5 separate regions of the Homo sapiens genome follow, and all the other regions are linked to region 1. The links are contacts of gene promoters, found by promoter capture Hi-C in blood cells and fetal thymus (Javierre and others, 2016). All regions are on one chromosome and are shown on one strand. Each heading gives the region's core, a stretch centred on a gene start or on the middle of the fragment in contact. The rest is flanking DNA. Distances are from core to core; before and after follow the strand shown.

Evidence for each region. Contacts are between HindIII fragments. The CHiCAGO score rates a contact against its expected background, and 5 or more counts as called.
Region 2: a contact is called between a fragment that was not itself captured here and the fragment with the promoter of SCARF1 in region 1, in 4 of 17 cell types (M1 macrophages, M0 macrophages, megakaryocytes and 1 more). The highest score is 8.3, in M1 macrophages.
Region 3: a fragment that was not itself captured here is called in contact with the fragment with the promoter of SCARF1 in region 1 in 1 of 17 cell types (erythroblasts); the score reaches 5.1 in erythroblasts.
Region 4: a fragment that was not itself captured here is called in contact with the fragment with the promoter of SCARF1 in region 1 in 1 of 17 cell types (M1 macrophages); the score reaches 5.5 in M1 macrophages.
Region 5: a contact is called between the fragment with the promoter of YWHAE here and the fragment with the promoter of SCARF1 in region 1, in 1 of 17 cell types (neutrophils). The highest score is 5.7, in neutrophils.

Annotation. Positions count from the first base shown.
Region 1 is chr17:1,644,445-1,647,144 of GRCh38, reverse strand. SCARF1 (scavenger receptor class F member 1) reads left to right here and starts at 1,413. Exons shown (of 11, transcript NM_003693.4): 1 at 1,413-1,548; 2 at 1,906-1,967; 3 at 2,210-2,311. The coding sequence starts at 1,448. RILP (Rab interacting lysosomal protein) reads left to right here. Exons shown (of 8, transcript NM_031430.3): 7 at 156-239; 8 at 526-995. The coding sequence ends at 703. The HindIII fragment of the contact is 11,256 bases long and covers 1-2,700 here.
Region 2 is chr17:1,859,452-1,862,227 of GRCh38, reverse strand. All of the region lies in intron 5 of RPA1 (replication protein A1), which reads right to left. Among named protein-coding and RNA genes, the nearest start is that of RPA1, 31 kb to the right of the region's middle. The HindIII fragment of the contact is 481 bases long and covers 1,178-1,658 here.
Region 3 is chr17:1,885,080-1,887,779 of GRCh38, reverse strand. The region is part of intron 13 of RPA1 (replication protein A1); the gene reads right to left. Among named protein-coding and RNA genes, the nearest start is that of RPA1, 56 kb to the right of the region's middle. The HindIII fragment of the contact is 153 bases long and covers 1,342-1,494 here.
Region 4 is chr17:1,782,235-1,784,934 of GRCh38, reverse strand. It overlaps SMYD4 (SET and MYND domain containing 4), which reads left to right. Exons shown (of 11, transcript NM_052928.3): 8 at 474-609; 9 at 1,459-1,575; 10 at 1,777-1,900. Among named protein-coding and RNA genes, the nearest start is that of SERPINF1, 22 kb to the right of the region's middle. RefSeq lists an enhancer at 786-1,080. The HindIII fragment of the contact is 1,609 bases long and covers 590-2,198 here.
Region 5 is chr17:1,398,972-1,401,671 of GRCh38, reverse strand. It overlaps YWHAE (tyrosine 3-monooxygenase/tryptophan 5-monooxygenase activation protein epsilon), which reads left to right and starts at 1,450. Exons shown (of 6, transcript NM_006761.5): 1 at 1,450-1,625. The coding sequence starts at 1,562. RefSeq lists enhancers at 1-9, 952-1,589, 1,590-2,227, 2,228-2,700. The HindIII fragment of the contact is 7,246 bases long and covers 1-2,700 here.

The DNA of each region.
Region 1 (2,700 bases), core at 164-2,663:
TTAAAAATTAAAGGCTCGACATCCTGCATCTCCCCAGGGTTGCCTTCTCTCCAGCCCCGGGGGCCCTGCAGTCCCTCCATCCCCCCTGCTGGATTCCTGTTGTCCCTCAGGGCCTTGATCAATGGCCCTCACTTCTCCTCTCTCCTCTGTCTCAGTGAGGATGAGGCTGGCCCATGGATCCTGCTCTCCGATGACAAGGGAGACCATCCCCCACCCCCGGAGTCCAAAATACAGAGTTTGTATGTTGGGGAAAGGGGAAAGGCAAGAGTGTGGGGAGGGAGGAAGGGCCCTGGCTGGTCCTTCTCAGGATCCCCTTTCCCGCTTCTCTGCCCGTCACCCTGCTGTGCTTGGCTCTAAGCACACCGTCCCCTCCTGCTTCTCTGGCCCTGGCCCCCATCACCTTCACACTCCCTCAGGCTGCCCTTTCTTCCCCCTCTCCCCTTTTCTCACCATCCCCTGCCCTCACCCATATCCTTGACCTCTCTGGCTTCCTGGCTCAAAGTGCCTCTGGCTGTCTCTCTCCAGCTTTGGCCTATGGTATCGGGGTAAAGCTGAATCCTCTGAGGATGAGACCAGCAGCCCTGCACCCAGCAAGCTAGGGGGAGAAGAGGAGGCCCAACCACAGTCTCCAGCTCCTGATCCGCCCTGTTCTGCCCTCCACGAACACCTTTGTCTGGGGGCCTCAGCCGCCCCAGAGGCCTGACTTAGGGGTCTGGCTGTGGAAGGATGTGTGGCCTCAAATGAGGACAGGGCTCCCGCCTTCACAGCCCTCGCCAGGGGTCTGCCCCAATCCTGGCCTGCATCAGGGCAGGACGGGGTCTCAGCCCGCCTCCCTCTCTACGTCTCTGTACCGAGCCTCTGGGGCCAGATATAAGAGTGCCTCTCTGAGTCTCAGTTTCCCCATCCATGAAATGAGAGCTGACTGCCTAGCTCCCAGGGCTTTGTGCAGACGGCCTGAGCTCATGTAATAAAGAACTGCCCGTAATACACAGAAACTGTTCCTCGCCTGTCTGTCCATGTCTGTGCCACCTCCCAACCCTGCCAGGAGCAGAGGCAGGCTGAGGGGTCCTCGCTGGTCTCCTTGCTCAGTCACTGGGTGGGGTGGCTTCTTGCAGCTCAGGCCTTGCTTTGGGAGTGTGGCCTGATGGAAAGCCGTGGCTCCCAGCCTCAGTCCACCCCCTTCCCTGGCCCCGGCACCCAGGGACCTGCAACTTCATTCTTCTGGCCCTTCCAGGCCCAGGCCAGTCAGCCCTGCCATTGCCTTTCTTTCCCTTTCTTTTTTTGAGTGTCAGTCTTTCCAGCCACCCCCTCCCTCTCAGGGAGGTGCCTCGTGGCAGCCCGCCCCTCCGGCCTGGTTTCCTCAGGAAAAGCCCTGAGAGGAAGCAGGGAGGGGGTTGGGAGCTGTGGGGGCCAGACGAACCCGAGCGCTCCCACCGAGCTGCCTGCCATGGGGCTGGGGCTGCTGCTCCCGCTGCTGCTGCTCTGGACTCGGGGGACTCAGGGGTCCGAGCTGGACCCCAAAGGGCAGCACGTCTGTGTGGCCAGCAGGTGGGTCTCGTGGGAGTCTGATGCGTGTGGCCAGCAGGTGGGTCTCGTGGGAGTCTGATGCGGGTGGCTGAACCGGTGTTGAGGCCGTTAGGGGAAGGAGGAGACTAGGAAGGGGGCTTAGGCTGAAAGGAAGGGACTGCTGATGGCGGTCTGGCAGGTAGTGGCCAGCCAGGGCAGATGGTGGAAGGGTCAGGGAAGGAGAGGGGAGGGGCTGGGGACCCTAGCTGTAAAGATCCATTAGGCCTCCCCAGGGGGCTAAGGCAGCCTCCCCCACTGCAGCCAGAGACAGTGATCCACCTTCCTCAGGGCCAGGCTGCACCCCCCACCATGTCCGGCTGACCCCTTTTTGCCCCACAGCCCCTCTGCTGAGCTGCAGTGCTGCGCAGGCTGGAGGCAGAAGGATCAAGAATGCACCATCCGTGAGTAGCCAGGACAGACCCTCAGCCAAGGAGAAGGGAGGCCGTAGCCCAGTGACAACCCTTCCTTCCTACCCCATGGGGCCTGCCCCTCCTGATACCAGGAGTCAGGGTTTCTCCTGTGACGCACCCCCAGGCCTGAAGGGGCACCTCTTGAGGAGGCATGGCCCCTGGAGCCAGTGAGAGGGCAGGGGTGTCCCCTGGTCCTGCTCCCGTCTTTCCAACCTGGGTGGGGTGTCTTTCAGCCATCTGTGAGGGGCCGGACGCCTGCCAGAAAGACGAGGTGTGTGTGAAGCCGGGCCTCTGTCGATGCAAGCCTGGATTCTTTGGGGCCCACTGCAGCTCCCGTGAGTCTCAAGGGCCAGATGAAGTTGCTGGGCAGAGCTGGGTACGGGGGCAGTGGTGTGGGAGCAGGCGAGGCAGGTAGCCATGCAGCCTCAGGACAGCAGGGCCAGAATCCCCCCCAGCTTCACTGAGGAATTGCGGTCCAGAGACAGGAAGTGACACACACTCCCGGGAGATGACCTGAGTCACCGGGTTTTTACCCACATCCACAAAGCACTGCCCACCTGAGCATCTTCCTCTTCCACTTCTCAGAAAACCTGTGATTCCCCTTCATTGTAAAATGAGTGTATTACTTGCCTTTCCCACATATACCTTATACATGGGCAGTGGATGGAAGGGGGCCCCTGGCTGGGCTCTCTGCCCTCTCTGGCAGAAAGAGAGGGAAGGGAAA
Region 2 (2,776 bases), core at 169-2,668, 220 kb before region 1:
ATCGCTACAAAAAAAAAAAAAAAAAAAAAAAAATACGGTTGGGGGCGGTGGCTCACGCCTGTAATCCCAGCACTTTGGGAGGCTGAGGCGGGCAGATCACGAGGTCAGGAGATGGAGACCATCCTGGCTAACACAGTGAAACCCCGTCTCTACTGAAAATACAAAAAAAATCACCCGGGCATGGTGGTGGGTGCCTGTAGTCCCAGCTACTCAAGCAGGAGAATGGCGTGAATCCGGGAGGTGGAGCTTGCAGTCAACCGAGACCGCGCCACTGCACTCCAGCCTGGGCGACACAGTGAGACTCCGTCTCAAAAAATAAAAAAATAAAAACAAAAATTAGCAGGGTGCAGTGGTGCACGCCTGTAATCCCAGCTACTGAGGAGGCTGAGGCAAGGAGGATTGCTTGAGTCCAGGAGGCGGAGGTTGCAGTGAGCCAAGATCACGCCACTGGACTCCAGCCTGGGTGACAGTGTGAGACTCTTAAAAAAGAAAAAAAAAAAAGAGAGAGCACCACATTCTAATCTCCCATAGCGTGAAGTTAATAAACAAATGTTTCAACTGAAAAAATTAACGAAGAGCAGCACAAATGTGTTATTTAGAAATATGGAGACAAACAGAGAAGAAACAGCTGTGAGATTTGAAACAGACTGTCTCTAGACAGGAGTCAGAGGCCAAAGAAAAGTGAGGCAGGAGAATGCTGTTTTGTTTTTAAGGACACACCTCGCAAAAATATTCAACTTTTAAAACTACGTACCGGACAAATGGAGCAACAGAGACCAGGTTCACCCTAACACCTAACATAACCCCCTCCCCCCACCAGAAAGGGAGAAAATACGTGAGACGCATGGTTTTCAATGAGGGGTAGCGCCTGCTGTGCACAGGAAAGCGAGCGAGTGGGTCTGCACCAGCTCAGTGCCTCAAGGGCTTAGGGGGCCTGCCAGAACCCGAGGTGCAGAAATGGGGGCCGAGAGTCTGGGGAGATCGCCGTCTAGCTGGCCGGACAGAGTAGCAGAGAAGAGAGGGCTGTACACAGAGAACTCCAGAAATGGGTGGCAGGTTTCCTGGGTAGTCAGCAGAGTCCTGGTTGGCCCGTGTGTGTGTGTGGACACGATCTGAGGCCAGGGTGAGAATCATCTGAGAAGGCCAGAGGGAACCATGCCTGTGTTTACAGCAAGCTTGAAATAGTACCTGTTTCTACCAGTCAGATGGGAAAAATTCATATTCATGGGGCACGAGGTAGAACAGTCTGTCAGGTCTCGATTCAGTATTGGGAATAACTACACCTAGACTAAATGCAGCTCTCTGATTCTCTAATAAATCTTAAAAGCAACACACCAAAAGATCAAACTGTCTCCAAGTTAACTGTATCCCTGAAAAAAGCTCAAGAATAATTACAGGATTACAAAAGTTTCTAGCACCCAACGAGGTACGAATCCCAATGTCTGGCATTCGGTCCGAGGGCCAGGCATGAAAAGCAGCAGGAAAATATGATCCATGATCGGAGAGGCCGGGATCAACTGACGGAAACAAATCCGGACCTAACACAGACACCAGAATCCACAGACAAGGACCTTACAACAAATACTGTCATTGTGCTCTGTATGTCCCAAAAATTAAGCAGAGATGTAGATGAGTTTTTAAAGACCCAAAATCAAGCTTCTAGGGATAAAAACTATACTATCTGAGAAGAAAAATACACTCAATGGGATTAACAGCAGATTAGGCACTGCCTGAGAAACCATTAGTGAACTTGAACGGCTAGCAATAGAAAGTATACACAATGGCCAGGCACAGTAGCTTATGCCTGTAATTCAGCCTTTTGAGAGGCTAAGGCAGGAGGATTGAGGCCAGGAGTTTGAGACCAGCCTGGGCAACAAAGTGAGACCCCGCCCCTACAAATAAAAAGAAAAGAAATGAGCCGGGCGTGGTGGCACTGCCGTCCCAGCCCCAGTCCAGGCAGTCCACAGGCAGGCCCGGCACTCCACCTCCCAGACTACAGGTGCAGCCTGCAGTCCCAACTACTTGGGAGGCTGAGGCAGGAGGATTGCTGGAGGCCAGGAATTCAAGACCAGTGTGGGCAACATGGCAGGACTCCATGTCCACAAAAAATAAAATTAGGCCAATTATGGTGGCTCACGCCTTTAACCCCAGCACTTTGGGAGGCTGAGGCGGGCAGATCATGACGTCAAGAGATGGAGACCATCCTGGCCAACATGGTGAAACCCTATCTCTACTAAAAATACAAAAATCAGCTGAGCATGGTGATGCGTGCCTGTAGCCCTAGCTACTCAGGAGGCTGAGGCAGGAGAATCGCTTGAACCTGGGAGGCGGAGGTTGCAGTGAGCCGAGATCACGCCACTGCACTCCAGCCTGGCAACAGAGTGAGACTTCGTCTCAAAAATAAATAAATAAATAAAAAACAAAATAAAATTAGCTGGGCGTGGTGGCACATGCCTGTAGTCCCAGCTACTCAGGAGGCGGAGGTGGGAGGATTGCTTGAGCCCAAGGTGTTGAGGCTGCACTGAGCCGTGAATGTACCACTGTACTCCAGCCTGGGCAACAGAGCAAGATGTTGTCTCTAGGAGAGAAAAAACAAAACAAAACAAAAAAAACGCCAAAGTGGCTATGCTAATATCAAAGCAGACTTCAAAGCACAGAATTTCCCAGGGATAAAATCATTTCATAATAATAAGAGTCAACTCATCAAGTGGACACAAGAATTCTAAATTATATAGATATTTAATAATACAGCTTTGAAATACATGAAGCAAAAACT
Region 3 (2,700 bases), core at 169-2,668, 240 kb before region 1:
GTAGCTGGGACTACAGGCGTGCACTACCACGCCTGGCTAATTTTTGTATTTTTTAGTAGAGATGGGGTTTTGCCATGTTGGGTAGGCTGGTCTCGAACTCCAAACCTCAAGTGATCCACCCACCTTGGCCTCCCGAAGTGCTAGGATTATAGGAGTAAGCCACCATGCCTGGCCCTTTTTCATTATTATCATATCTGTTATGGTGATTTTTTTTTTTTTTCTGAGACGGAGTCTCGCTCTGTCACCAGGCTGGAGTGCAGTGGCATGATCTCAGCTCACTGAAATCTCCGCCTCCCAGGGTCAAACGATTCTCCTGCCTCAGCCTCCCGAGAAGCTGGGACTACAGGCATGCACCACTACGCCCAGCTAATTTTTGTATTTTTAGTAGAGACGGGGTTTTAACCACGTTGGTCAGGATGGTCTCGATCTCCTGACTTCAGGTGATCCGCCTGCCTCAGCCTCCCAAAGTGCTGGGATTACAGGAATGAGCCACCGCGCCTGGCCTACAGTGATCTTTAACGTCACTATTGTAGTTGTTCTGGGGTGCCACCAACTACACCCATATAAGATGGGGAACTTATATTGATGAATGTTGTATGTATGCTGACTGATCCTCCAATCAAGTATTCCTGTCTCTCTTCTTTGAATACACAAATAAGAAAGCAAACAGCCTTACTGCTGATATGGAGTAAGCTGTAGTGGTCTAGATAGAATATCAAGCAAGCCACAACATTCTCTTAAGCCAAAGCCTAACCCAGAGCAAGGCCTCACCTTTCTTCAATTCTGTGAAGGCTGAGAGAGGTCAGGAAGCTGCAGAAGAGGCCAGGTGCAGTGGCTCACACCTGTAATCCCAGCACTTTGGGAGGCAGAGGCAACATGATTGCCTAAGCCAAGGAGTTCGATACCAGCCAGGCAACATAGTGAGACCTAGTCTCTACAAAAATCTGTCAGGGCACGGTGGTGTGCACCTGTAGTCCCAGCTACTCCAGAGGCTGAGGTGAGCTGTGATTGCACCACTGCACTCCAGCCTGGGTGACAGAGTGAGACTCTGTCTCAAAAAAAAAAAAAAAAAAAGCTGCAGAAGAAAAGATGGCAGCCAGCAGATGTTGGTTCATGAGGTTTAAGGAAATAAGCCGTCACCATAACAAAAGTGCAAGGTGAAGCAGCAAGTGCTGATGGAGAAGCTGCAGCAAGTTATCCAGAAGATCTAGCTAGGACCACCAATGAAGGTGGCTGCACTCAACAACAGATTTTCAACGTAGACAGAATAGCCTTCTGGAAGAAGATGCCATCAAGAACATTCGTCCTAGAGAGTAGAAATCAATGCCTGGCTTCAAAGCTTCAAAGGAAAGGCTGACTCTCCTGTTAGGCGCGAATGCAGCTGGGGACTATAAGGTGAAGCCAGTGCTCATTGACCATGTCAAAAATCTTAGGGCTCATAAGAACTATGCTAAATCTACTTTGCCTCTGCTTTATAAATAGAATATCAAAGCTTGGATGACAGCATATCTATTTATAGTGTAGTTTATTGAATATTTTAAGCCCACTGTTGAGACCTACTACTCAGAAAAAGAGACTCCTTTAAAAATATGACTGCTCATTGACAATGCACCTGTTCACCCGAGAGCTCAATGGAGACACACAGTACGAGGAGATTAATATATTGACAATGCACCTGTTCACACAAGAGCTCAATGGAGACACACAGTACAAGGAGATTAATATATTGACAATGCACCTGTTCACCCAAGGGCTCAATGGAGACACACAGTACAAGGAGATTAATATATTGACAATGCACCTGTTCACCCGAGGGCTCAATGGAGATGCACAGAACAAGGAGATTAATATTGTTTTCATGCTTGATAACAACATCTATTCTGCAGCCCATGCAAATCAAGGAGTAATTTTGACTTTTTAAGTCTAAGAGACATATTTCATGAGGCGATAGTTGCCACAGTGATTCCTCTGATGGATCTGGGGAAAGTAAATTGAAAACCTGAAAAGGATTCACCATTCTAGATGCTATTAAGAACAGTTGGCTGGGCACAGTCGCTCACACCTGTAACTCCTGGCACTTTGAGAGGTTGAGGCAGGGAGATCCCTTGAGCCCAGGAGTTTGAGAGCAGCCTGGGCAACATGACACAACTCAGTCTCTACAAAAAATACAATTAGCCAGGTGTGGCAGCACCTGTAGTCCCAGCTTGGGAGCCTGGGGAGGTTGAGACTGCAGTGAGCTGTGATCAAGCCAGTGCACTCCAGCCTGAGTGACAGAATGAGACCCTGTCTCAAGTTAAAAAAAAAAGGAACATTCATGATTCATGGGAGGAGATCAAAATCCCAACATCAACGGGAGTTTGGAACAAGTTGATTCCAACCCTCAAGGTAGACACTGAGGCTTCAAGACTTTGGTGGAGGAGGGATCTGTAGATGTGACGAAAATAACGAGAGAACTAGAATTACAAATGGAGCCTGAAAATGGGCCTGAACTGCTGTAATCTCACGATCAAACTTGAACGGATAAGGAGCTGCTCCTTACGATGGGCAAGGAAAGTGCTTTCTTGAGATGAAATCTCTTGTGGTGAGAACGCTGTGAGCATTGTTGAAATGACGACAAAGGATTTAGAATTTGCATAAGCTTGGCTGATAAAGCAGTGACAGGACCTGAGAGGGAGAGACTCCAGTTTGAAAAAGTTCTCC
Region 4 (2,700 bases), core at 145-2,644, 140 kb before region 1:
AGCCGGGCTTGGTGGTGGGCACCTGTAGTCCCAGCTACTCGGGAGACTGAGGCAGGAGAATGGCGTGAACCCGGGAGGCGGAGCTTGGAGTGAGCCGAGATCGCACCACTGCACTCCAGCCTGGAGACCGAGCGAGACTCCATCTCAAAAAAAAGAAATGTTTGTCATCTAAAGTCCTGGCCCCAAAAAGCGACAAGAGGGGCTATAGAAGTGGAAAGAAATTGTGCACTGTACCAGTTCTGTTCCAAAAATGAAATCTCAGGTGGGATCAGCTACTGCTGATACACTTCATTAGAATTGCCGCCATTGCCGCCATCAAACAAAATTCGCTCAGACTTTCGTCACGATGTATTGTTACAGGAGTCTCTTTCCCCCATGAGGTAAGAAACTATGGAGCAGTCCTGTAATGTAAGCACAGGCGGTGTTGATAACTGACCCTGGCATTGGAATAAAGAGAAAACTGACTTCCACAGGGAGATGACGTGCTGCGCTGTGGCAGCAGATCTTGTGCAGAATCCGCCGTCAGCAGGGACCACCTGGTCTCTCGGTTACAGGACCTACAGCAGCAGGTCAGAGTGGCCCAGAAGCTTCTCAGAGATGGTGAACTAGGTGAGACTGGCTCCCTGCTTTGGTCCTCCAGCCCCTTCCCTTTTATTTGTTCTGATACCGTTTTGGACTCAGGGATACTCAGTACTGATGGGAGAATTGGATGTAATTATCCCCATGCCAGCCACAAGATGGCTATATAGGCCAGTGAGTCCAAACCCTGACCAGCTTTGTTACTGTGGGGCCCTTGAAAAGGGGCCAGGTGATTTCAGCTGTTGTTTTCTTCTGCATCTGATTGCTAAGTTGAAGTACCCCTGCCAACTAACGGGTCATCGCTGACATCCGTGAGCTGTGTGCAGTTCCAGAAGTTGAGTGTCATTTATTTTAATTCCAGGGCCTAGTGATGTAACTTCCTAGAAGGGCGGTTCTTCCCTCCTCAGAGCTAGTCTCTGCTAGAGAGCAGTGGGGCGTGAGCCCAGCTGATAGGAGTGTCTTGCTTTTGTCTGAGACTTGCGGAGCTCCCCATTGCCCTTGAAAACCCTGCCTTAGAGCTTGACATCATGGGATTTTTATTTACCCTGCTTTATGAAAGTTGACCTTTAGCTTAGATTTCAGGGTCAAGAGAAATCATGGCCGTACGTGAAAGGTAGAGTTGGTCGAGTTGGGAAGTTAATGTTGAAAATACAGTGTAAATGTGGGGAGGCCTCCCCTAGCGCCTTTCTCCACTGACAGAGAAAACAGAAGAAAACAGCAGCTTTATTGGAACAGACATTGTGCGTTGGTGACAACCCAGGGAGGCCAGGGGGAATTTCCACATTCAGCCCAGCTGATTCAGAGGATTTGAGACCTGGATTCTCATTCCTAGGACTGGGCTTCTGTCTATAGTGAGACGTCTTTCCTCTGCATTGACAGAGCGAGCTGTTCAGCGGCTGTCGGGGTGCCAGCGTGACGCCGAGAGCTTCCTGTGGGCAGAGCACGCCGTGGTGGGAGAGATCGCGGATGGCCTGGCCCGGGCCTGTGCTGCCTTAGGTACAGCATGAGCCTTCACGTTCTGCGTCGGGAACAGTCTGCTGTGGGCACTTCGCCGTGGCCCCGGCCTTGTCTGCCTGGTTACCCCCCGCTCTGTAAACTGAGGGTGCTCCCCCTCTCGTTCCATTTCCTCCCCCTGAAAATATGCATCCACAGTTGACAGTGGTTCTTTTCTGGAACAAGATTTTTCTCTTCTCACAGGAGACTGGCAAAAGTCAGCCACCCATCTACAGAGGAGTCTCTACGTGGTGGAGGTTCGCCACGGGCCGTCCAGTGTTGAAATGGGCCATGAGCTCTTCAAATTGGCCCAGATCTTTTTCAACGGGTGAGTCCCTTTCCCACTTCACAGGGCACACACTGTTCCTTTCCTAGGCTCTTCTGGGTATTACTTTTTTTCTATGGTGTTTTTAAAAGCATGTTGAAACTTCTTTATTTCCTCTTTAGGAGAGATCTTTGCCTTCTGTTTTGCTAACAAACATAACGCTTTAGAATTTCCTCCTGGGAGGCGGAGCTTGCAGTGAGCCAAGATCGCGCCACTGCACTGTAGCCTGGGCGACAGAGCGAGACTCCATCTCAAAAAAAAAAAAAAAAAGAATTTCCTCCTGGGAGATATGGGGAAAGCTTTTAGATCTCAAGTGAGTTTCCCAGAGAGAACTTGGCCAGGCAGCCCCACCCACCCTCCAGTATAGCTCTCCTTCTGGTTGTTCTCTGGTTCGTCACAGCCCCTTTGGCTGTCTCATTCCCAGCACTCTCAGCTCCAGGCTCTCTGCCTTCTCCCTACTCTGCATCCTCTTCCTTTTAAAGCGTTTGCTTGAACCAGGGCTGATTTTACCCCCAGACAACATGTGGCATTGCCTGGAGACTTTTTTTTTTTTTTTTTTGAGAAGGGGTCTTGCTGTCTTGCCCAGGCTGGAGTACAGTGGCTCGGTCACAGCTCACTGCTTCCTGCAACTCCTGGGCTCAAGCGATCTCTGGAGACATTTTGGATTGTCATGACTTGGAAGGGGGGTGCTGCTGGCATCTATTCGAAAGAGGCCAGAGGTGCTGCTAAGCATCCTCCCGGGTACAAGACAGTGCCCCCCCCACCAACCCCAGCAAAGAAGGAGCCAGCAACAGTGTCAATAG
Region 5 (2,700 bases), core at 201-2,700, 250 kb after region 1:
CTTGGTCCAACTCTTCTGTACCATGTACTCCACACCACCCTCATCTAACAAATTCCCTGCTCCTATTCATAGTGGGCCTAGGGAGGGAAAAAGGTTAAACAGGAGAAGACAAAGATCAGTGTGAGGGGAAAGTTGAGGCGTGAAAACTGGAGCTCCCCTGTCCCTGACAACTGTAACAGGGCCCAGTTCGTTTTTTTTCTTTTTCTTTGTTTTGAGACAGAGTTGTGCTCTTGTTGCCCAGGCTGGAGTGCAATGGTGTGCTCTCGGTTCACTGCACCCTCCCACTCCCGGGTTCAAGCGATTCTCCTGCCTCAGCCTCTGGAGTAGCTGGGATTACAGGCATGCACCACCACGCCCAGCTAATTTTTGTATATATATATAATTTTTCTTTTGAAACACAGTCTCACACTGTCGCCTGGGCTGGAGTGCAATGGGAGGATCTCGGCTCACTGTAACCTCCGCCTCCCGGGTTCAAGAGATTCTCCTGCCTCAGCCTCCTGAGTAGCTGGGATGACAGGCATGCACCACCATGCCAAGCTAATTTTTTGTATTTTTAGTAGAGACGGGGTTTCACTATATTGGCCAGGCTGGTCTCGAACTCCTGACCTTGTGATCCTCCCGCCTTGGCCTCCCAAAGTGCTGGGATGACAGGCATGAGCCGCCGCGCCCGGCCAGGGCCCGGTTCGTTACCCTGAGTCTAAAAGTGTCTGAAAAAGGCCCATGACCAGGCTTGGCCGAGAAAACTAGGACGTGGGCTGGGCGCGGTGGCTCACCCCTGGAATCCCAGCGCTTTGGGAGGCCGAGGGGGGGCGGATCATCTGAGGTCGGGAGTTCGAGACCAGCCTGGCCAACATGGTGAAACCCCATCTCTATTAAAAATACAAAAGCTGGGGGTGGTGGCGGGGGCCTGAAATCCCAGCTACTCGAGAGGCTGAGGCAGCAGAATCACTTGAACCCGGGAAGGCGGACGTTGTGGTAACCCGAGATCGCACCACTGCACTCCAGCCTGGGGAACAAGAGGGAAACTCCGTCTCAAAAAGAAAAAAGAAAAAAGAAAAAAGAAAAGAAAACCAGGGCGCGGTAGTGACAGCCTCAGATTTCGGGAAAGAAGACCTGCCATGACAGAAACCGTTACAGCCTCCGTCGTTCTTTTCCGCAGGTCGGGCCTCGGGCCCCGGTCTGACCCAGGTCTCTCGCTGGCTTTTTTCAGGAGCAGTCCCGGCCGGCCCCGCCTCAGCCCTTCTCGTTCCCCGGGGGCCGCTCCCTTTCGGCAGTCGCAGTTCCCGCCTCTGGGCTCCGGCGCCCGCTGAGCCGACAGAGGAGAGGCGTCTCGTGCGCTCGTTCCAGCCGCTTCGGGCGCCGAGTTCCAGGACCCGCCCCCCGCGCCAGTTGCCAGGGAGCGGTTGCCATAGAGCTGAGCAGTTGTCCGCGTGCGCAGGCGGAAGTCCCGGATTGAGGCGCCGCCATTTTTGCTGCCCGGACGCGGAGCGAGAGGCTGAGAGAGTCGGAGACACTATCCGCTTCCATCCGTCGCGCAGACCCTGCCGGAGCCGCTGCCGCTATGGATGATCGAGAGGATCTGGTGTACCAGGCGAAGCTGGCCGAGCAGGCTGAGCGATACGACGGTGAGTTGGGGGGGCAACGGGGGGCTGGAATTCTCGGACCCTCTGCCGCCGCCCACAGAGGCCGGGAACAGGAGACAAAATGGCGGCATCGTCTGCGAGCCTGGCCCGGGGGCTTGGGTTCGGGAAGCAGGAAATGGCCTGGGAGCTCCCGGGGCGATGGGAGGCTCTATGCCCTGGAATGTGACCCCTTCGCCGTCCTTAACTGCAAACAACTCGCGGGCCGGGAGGCCGGGGCGACGGGGTGGAGGAGTTGGTTGTAAAATGGCGGCTGGGGGGAGGGCGAGTCCCGGGGCGGGGGAGGGGGAGGAGATGGCGGGTGCTGTCTCCGAACGAGCCACCCTCATGGGAGCTTCTGGGACGGCCTTGGGATGTGGAGAACAATTGGGTGGGGTGACGGGGGAAGCAGCACCCGCCACATGGGAGAGAGCGAAGACCGGGAGCTGTAGCGCGGGCGCCTTTCAGGGAAATATGGCGGGTGGGGGCGGTGGCTTTTCCCCGGAGGCCCCGTGTGGGGCGGCGGCCGTGGAGTCTCACAAAGGAGGACCTTTGAGAGCGATGGGCTTCCTCAGGCCTGAGGTGGGGGACAGTCGTGGATGATGGTGGGGGGAGAGGGGTGAGTGGGAATCACTGCAGTTCGTCTTCGGGCGGTGGCAGGCTCCCATGCTGCGATCGGGTTTCTTTCCCGTAGGCCGGCACCTCGTAGTGAGGGGTTTCGGGGCTTTTCCTCCTCGTCGTCTTCTGGGGAGGCCCAGAAAATCCTCACTCCCTCCCTTTCCTCAGACTTAAAACAGGAGATCTCGAAGTTCCTGTAACCTTTCTCTGGCTCCATCACCCGTGGGTTCTGATGGATAGAACCAGGAGGCCACGACTCTGAGAGTTCGAGCCTTTGTAGAGCCCGAGCCTCCGTCCCCCCGTTTGTAAAAACGATGACTTTACAGTTTGTGCGCACCGTGATGACAAATGGGAAGACCTGTTGAAATAAAGTTATTTCCAATAGTGTTCAGTAACTGTATTTTGGTTGACTCTGCAGGCTCGGAATGCTGGTCTGTACTTCGTGGGGGATCTTAACCTATTC